2 separate regions of the Homo sapiens genome follow, and region 2 is linked to region 1. The links are contacts of gene promoters, found by promoter capture Hi-C in blood cells and fetal thymus (Javierre and others, 2016). All regions are on one chromosome and are shown on one strand. The core of a region is centred on a gene start or on the middle of the fragment in contact, and the rest is flanking DNA. Distances in the headings are between cores, read along the strand shown. Region 1 holds the start of REEP4 (receptor accessory protein 4). Region 2 has its middle 120 kb from the start of SNORD3F.

What was found. Contacts are between HindIII fragments. The CHiCAGO score rates a contact against its expected background, and 5 or more counts as called.
Region 2: a contact is called between a fragment that was not itself captured here and the fragment with the promoter of REEP4 in region 1, in 5 of 17 cell types (naive CD4 T cells, naive CD8 T cells, non-activated CD4 T cells and 2 more). The highest score is 8.6, in naive CD4 T cells.

The regions. Positions count from the first base shown.
Region 1 is chr8:22,140,306-22,143,523 of GRCh38, forward strand. It overlaps REEP4 (receptor accessory protein 4), which reads right to left and starts at 1,602. Exons shown (of 8, transcript NM_025232.4): 1 at 1,146-1,602; 2 at 320-392. The coding sequence starts at 1,177. RefSeq lists an enhancer at 1-591 and silencers at 1,356-1,505, 1,516-1,645. The HindIII fragment of the contact is 1,867 bases long and covers 119-1,985 here.
Region 2 is chr8:20,492,892-20,496,109 of GRCh38, forward strand. No RefSeq gene overlaps it. Among named protein-coding and RNA genes, the nearest start is that of SNORD3F, 120 kb to the right of the region's middle. RefSeq lists an enhancer at 465-1,003. The HindIII fragment of the contact is 288 bases long and covers 1,398-1,685 here.

The DNA.
Region 1 (3,218 bases), core at 352-2,851:
GGCCAGCCCAGCCCAGAGATTCCAGGGAGCCTGTCCGGCTGCATAGCTGCTTTCCCCCACACATGGCTGGACAGGAGCTCTGAGAAACTGCTGCTCATTCCTATGCCCGCCTCCAACAAGCTTCACCCACCAGATCTTCCACAGGCACCCCGATGGCCTGCCCTCTATCTACACCCTCTTGAACAGGGCCCATTCTCTCTCCCTCCCCACTCCACTCAGGATGTGCCACACAGCCTTGCCCCTGGAGGAGGGAGAGGCCAACTGAGACCCTCCCCACCTCACCAAGTCCTATTAAACACACCCAAACCCCCACGCTCACATATTCACGAATGTTCTTGGTCTTCACAGCCTTATAGGAAGCATAAGCTGGACACAGCATCCCAAACACCAGCCTGGAAGAGCAGCCATGGGGAGTGTGAGGGGCACCATGCCCCACTCCCACCTTGCCAAGTGGCCATTTCCCCCCACTGGGGTGCAAGGTGGCAGTACCCGCCCTGTTTTTCTCGCTTGGCTTGTACAACCCGTGCCTGAGTCAGAGCCCTGGAGGCCACCTCCCCACCCTGCTGTTTACAAACATCCCAAGCCTGCCCAGGCCTGCACCGGTGGCCCATGGGTGCATGATGGAGTGAGAGGACAGCCACTCCACGAAGTGGGTGAGAACACCAGACTGTCCCCTCCCATGGGCATGCAATCAGGCCCAGGGTCACCAGACCTGACACTGCTGGGTTGCAGATAGGGCTATGTGAGCCAGATGTTGGCATACTCAAAGGTGAGGAATAGGATGGTGAGTCATGTGACTGCTCAGATGGCAAGCAGGCACCTGGATTCTCCGCCCACAACGTGCCATATCACCTTGTGTTTGCCAAGGGGCAGCAAGGTAGGCCTGTGGCCCTCGGCTCCACGCATCTGTTTGCAGTGTGTGTGGCGTGCGGCAGGGGTCGTTCTCAGCCAACGAGGCTTGGTGGGGCGGGTAGCCTGCGGTGCCCCAGACACCGCGTGCAAGCCCACAGGTCCGTTAACCCTTGCATGGAGTGCTGGAGGGTGGAGCTCAGAAAGTTCCTCCTCCCACTAGACGTCCACAGCTTCCACCACAGGGGCGGGACGGCACCCCGGGGTAGAGGAGGTCTGAGGGCGGCCATACTCACACCACCAGGCGACAGATCATCCAGGACACCATCTTGCCGGCCTTTGGGACGTGGGGAGGACCCCAGGAAGCCGCTCAGAAGGACGTTCACTCAAGGGCTGGGACGGGGGGTGATCAGGGCAGTTGCGGGAAGCAGAGGGGCGATCCGGCTGTCCCTCGGCGGAGGCAGAGCCCGCCGCCCACGGCCTCCGACTGTGCAGTTCAGGGGACCTGGAGAATGGGGAGACCCGAGGCAAAGCGGCCCCGGCGGGGAGGAAGCCGACTTGGGAGCGGGCGCGCCCCGCGGCCGGGGCAGTTACAGCTCCCACCCGCCCTTTCTGCCGCGGAGAACCTGGCGCTCGGCCCTTGCTGCTGGTCCCGCGCTGGAGCGGGTCGCCGCGGTTCCAGCGCGCCGGGCCACCAGCACCGGCCTACAGGGCGGAGTTCGCAACTCACTTGAAAGTTGCACGGAACCGAGTGCTGCCCAACCCCAGGGCTCCGGCTTGCCACGCAGGCGCAGTGTAGCCCCGGAGGGGGCGGGGCGAGGTCAGGGAGGCGAGAGGCCGGCCCCTTAAAGGGGCGATGTGCCGCGGGACTCGCGCGTGGGGCCCACAGTGGAGCCACCTTCCCAATCGGAAAGATTAGCGTGTGGGAAGCTGTAACAAAAAAGCAGGGGGAGTGCGGGGGTCGGCACACAAAGAAAATCTGGACTCCAGAGTTTAAGCGACCCTTCACTGGCTTTTCCCGGTGTCTTTCCCTCTCGCCTCATTTTCCCCTCTGTGAACCGGGTAAAGGCATGAGATGCGGTTGGTGGGGTAGAGGGAAGGATCTCCTCTGCAGGCTCAGTCAGGAGCTGGAAGGAAGCTTGGCTGAGCGCCAGCAAGTCCGGGTCTCACACCAGTGGGTCCAGGAGGGAAAGGGGGGAGGTGTGGGGGGAGAGGGAACCTGAGGGACTTTTTGCCCCACCAGGTTTCAGGGGTTCCCTTCTCTCTGGGATGCCTTTCCAGATCCCTGACTCCGGGGCAGGCTGACCGCGATGATTTGAGGCATTCTGGGTAGAGCTCTCAGCTCCCACACTCCTTCAGCAGAAGTTTGAAATTCCACCTATTCCTCTGAGCCAAGTACACAAATAACCCTGGGCCCTTAATAGTAGTATCAACCATTGCCATTTTGTAATGCACGTTTGCACGCAAGGTCTTAGTCTTTGCAAACTTCTTTTAACCATGTAGGAAATAGGATGCTCAGTGGTGAAAAGTAACTTTCCTGGTATCACCCAGTGGTATTTATTGCTGGCTGGTGGCTACATGCTTGGCTTGATCAGTCTTCTGAGAGATCAGCAGCTGCAGGCTGAGTGGCCCTGCAGAGGGCCATGGAACCGGATAAGTTCCTCTGGGAGGGAGGCAGATGCCAGGAAGAAGGGGGAAGGCTCTAAAAAAGAAGGCAAACGTTGCTGCTTCTACTACTTGCCCTGTGAGGTTTCATTCTTTTTGACATCTTCAGCTTACTGCCTCTGTTGTTCCCTCTGAAAATAGTGTCCCCCCACCTTGCAGAGGGTGGGAGCAAAGCTGTCCGGGCATGTGGGGTGGAAACACAGGCAGTTACTGCTTTTTATTGGAGCCACAGTTAACCCCCACCAGCTATCATAAGGATGGAATAGGTAATCATGGGGCCAGGGAAAGGAGGCTTCTGGGGGATAAATAAACACACGGTGATTATATGGTCTTAATTACTGTCATCAGTTTTATTGGTATTGCTGGGTGTGAGAGCCAGCAGTGAAACCAGCCCACAGGAGAAACTTCCCCGAGGCCCCATGTCTCCCTCTCCTCTCTTAACCAACCCTCACATTTACCTGTCCCCCCTTACACACACACATTGGAGTAACCAAAAAGGCCAAGGGCTAGAGGAACTCCTAAGGAAGGCCCCAGCCACTGTCCATCTTTAGGCACAGACATGGTTCTCTAGGTGAAAAGTGTCCTGGGTCTCCCTGAAGGAGGAAAGCTGTGACTGAATAGGGGAGCAGCTGAAAGGGACATCCATGACTCAGGAGGTCACTGCACACGTGAGCCTCGGGTCCTTTGGTGCGTGCTGCAGAACT
Region 2 (3,218 bases), core at 292-2,791, 1.6 Mb before region 1:
GCTCCCCCAAGGATGATAACAGTTGCCTTGCAGCTTTCCCAACCTCCTCAGTGTGCAGGCCCCTCCCCACCTCTCCCTCCTGGTATCTCTACTGCACAGACCCATGCTCCATCTGAACACCAATCTCTTAGGCATTGCTATTTACATCTTCCTACATATCAGTTATGCCTCTCCATGTCAATTGTGAGCTGCTTGAGGGGAGAGACTTCCATATTCTTCCCTGTCCCCATACAACAGTTAACACAGGCACATGCCCTGTGCTCTCTAAGTAATTGCTAAATAAATACATTTTAAAGGAATGTTTGTGATCCTTGATAACACCGAGCAGTTTTCATTTTGCAGGCTGACACCTGTTGGAACCATAACATCAATTTTGCGGGCTGTGACATCAAAATGCCCCTAGTACGCATGAGTATTATTTGCTGAAACTTTCGTTTTTGTCTTAAATGCCTGTCACAGGCTGGGTTGTGGTTTAAAAATAAGTTTCTTACTTTTGATCATGGTTTGAAAAAAGAAAAAAAACAGTGACAGGATGCGTATGACAAGGCTCCTAGCTTGGATGCTGAGCCCCTTGTGGGCAGAATCAAAGACATTGGGCACCAAGACCTCCCAGCTGGAGAGGAAGCAACTGGTTTCAGAAAAGCTCTCCTGGGGTTGGGGCGGATTAGAAGACAGGCAGTCAAGAGAAGAAATGCTCAGGGGCCTGAGCACAGTCGCTCAAACTGCTTATTGTCTGGGCAACAAATAGGCACTGCAGGCGCACCTAAAAACCTCAAGTGTCTTTCCTTCAGAAAGACACAAAGCACTTAAGACCCTGCAATTGCTCAAGATTTTCCTCTAGGGATCCTTGTTTTCTCTAGAGCTTTAGATTGTAATAGAAACACCGTTGCCTTCATTCTTTTCTCACTTATTAAGCTGAAAAAGTAATCTGGAATCTTTAGCCTTTGGAGATTTGGCGATAATTTCTTGATGCAAAATTTGTATAGACAGCTTGACCATGATTGAAAGACCACATGAAAAAATCCTTGAAATTGAAATTGAAATCCTTGAAACTCAAAATTCTAGGACTGGAAATTCTTATCACCTATAGATGCTTTGAGGTTGAATTCAAAGTGTCATTGACCCAGGCACTGTTGGGAGTAGGAAGCCTTTTTTCTTAGGGAATTTGAGCCTCAACCTCTGTCTGCACTTTGCAGCATTGGCTGTGATGGGGCTTGTCTTGGCTGTGATGGGGCTTGTCTTCTGGTTCCATGTTCTGGACAAATGCTTCCACCTTTCTTTCTGGAACGCCTGCCTAATGTCTGGCTGTCTGCTGTTTGTACTCTGAAAACTACTTTAATTGGGAAGGTAAAATACAGTCTCAAATGCCCTTTTTGTGCCTTGTGAAAGCCCTCTAAAGCTTAGCTTAACTCAAAGAGCTTAAATCAATAGCACCGGCCCATTTTCTAATCACAGGGAATTTAATAATGATCAGGAAAGCCATTATCAGTCTGATCTGTGGGACTGTTTGGACTTTAACTCTTGGAAAACAGCTTCCTGTCAAACTTACATACTGTTATCATATAAAATGTCACTGAGAAGGGTATTAAAATCCCTCTTTGGAGAGAAAGCCTTATAGGGGTTCTATCAAAACTACTCTGTATGCTGATGAGTTAGGTGCTAGGAGAGAGAGAGAGCTAAAAACAAGCTTGGAGGTGGAAAGGAGGGAATTGTTCTCTTTTTGCCACAGCACACCCAAATGGAGAAGGGGAGGCTTCTTGGTGTCTGGGTCTGTAATTCAAGAAGTCCCTTGAGACACCTCAGCCCAGGGGCTGGAAAGTTCACGTCTATCCGCTGAGGCCTGGGAAGCCTGTTGGGGCCCCTGAAGGGAAGGGTGAGAGGAGAGCAGCCATGTCGCTCCATGGCTCCTGGCAGAAGTGTGAGGCTCCTGGACTCTGGTGACTTAGCCCCATTTACCATCACAGAGACATATAATACAGGCATTTGCCTACTTAGATCCCAGCCATGTGAGTTTTGGAAGTCTGCTGAGGTGAATTTCAACCCTGGTTACCATAATGCAGTTGGGCCTTTTGTGAGTTGAATGTGATGTTGTTGTTTTTAGGGATTAAATGTTCAGAGAGAACCACTGACTTGGGGTTAGATGGTTGGCCTTTAACAAAACCCTAAAGGAACAGGGTGTGAACAGTTACATAACAAAAGATAAGAGGAACTACTTGAAAAGCTGAGTTGGCCAGCATGGTGGCTTATGCCTCTAATCAGCACTTTGGGAGGCTAAGGTATAAAGAGCACTTGAGCCCAGGAGTTCGAGACAAGCCTGGACAACATAGTGAGACCCCTCATCTCTATAAAAAAATGTTAAAAAAATAGCTTGGTGTGGTGACACGTGCCTGTATTCCCAGCTATTCACAAGGCTGAGGTGGGAGGATTGCTTGAGCCCAAGAGGTTAAGGGTTGGCCAACTCTCTGCACCTGGGTTCTTCCAGCAGCCAAAGACTTGTAGAGAAGAGAAATGAGTGCATGTGGGCTCCGGGGGGCACATTCCTCCATTGTGTGCTCACATCAGACAGTCTCCACGATCCCAGCCAGCTCCTGGGGCTGTGACCTCCTGGGGTCCAGAGTCTTTCCTGAGCCACTGCCATGAAGCCAAAGTCCCCAGAGTGAAGCTGCCTGCACTGTGTCCTATGTCACCAGCCCTGGTTGCCCTACTTGACACAAATGGAGACCCCATCTCCATCTGACTTGTTTAAGGTCTTAAGTCTAAAACCTCAGCATCTTCACAACTCCACTTGCCTTATCCCTCCCCCACCAGATCCCCCCCCTCCAGGACTGCTAATCTCTCCTGCTGGGATGCACGTGCTCCCACCCCACATTTTGCAGGTTTTAACCCCTTTGGCTCTTTCAGATAGGCCTTAACCTCCTTAAGAAACTTATAACACATGGAGAGCGAAGGCCCAACACTGATTTTACATATTAGAAACTCAAACTCCGAGGTGGTCCGTGAGACCCTGTGGCTGGTCGGTGGCAGCAGGTGCCCAGGACACTGGCCTGGGCCTTATTCCTGGCCTGTGTGCCTTCTGTGTACCACCTGCCTGGGATGTCTCCATGTTGTACATAGAGAAGACTCTGGAGGGGGCCTTAGTACAAGCTTTGTTGCCCCAAAACTGAGTGATTGAGGGAAATACTGCAATCCCTCTGGTCTTCCTTTCTTTTTCTGTAAAA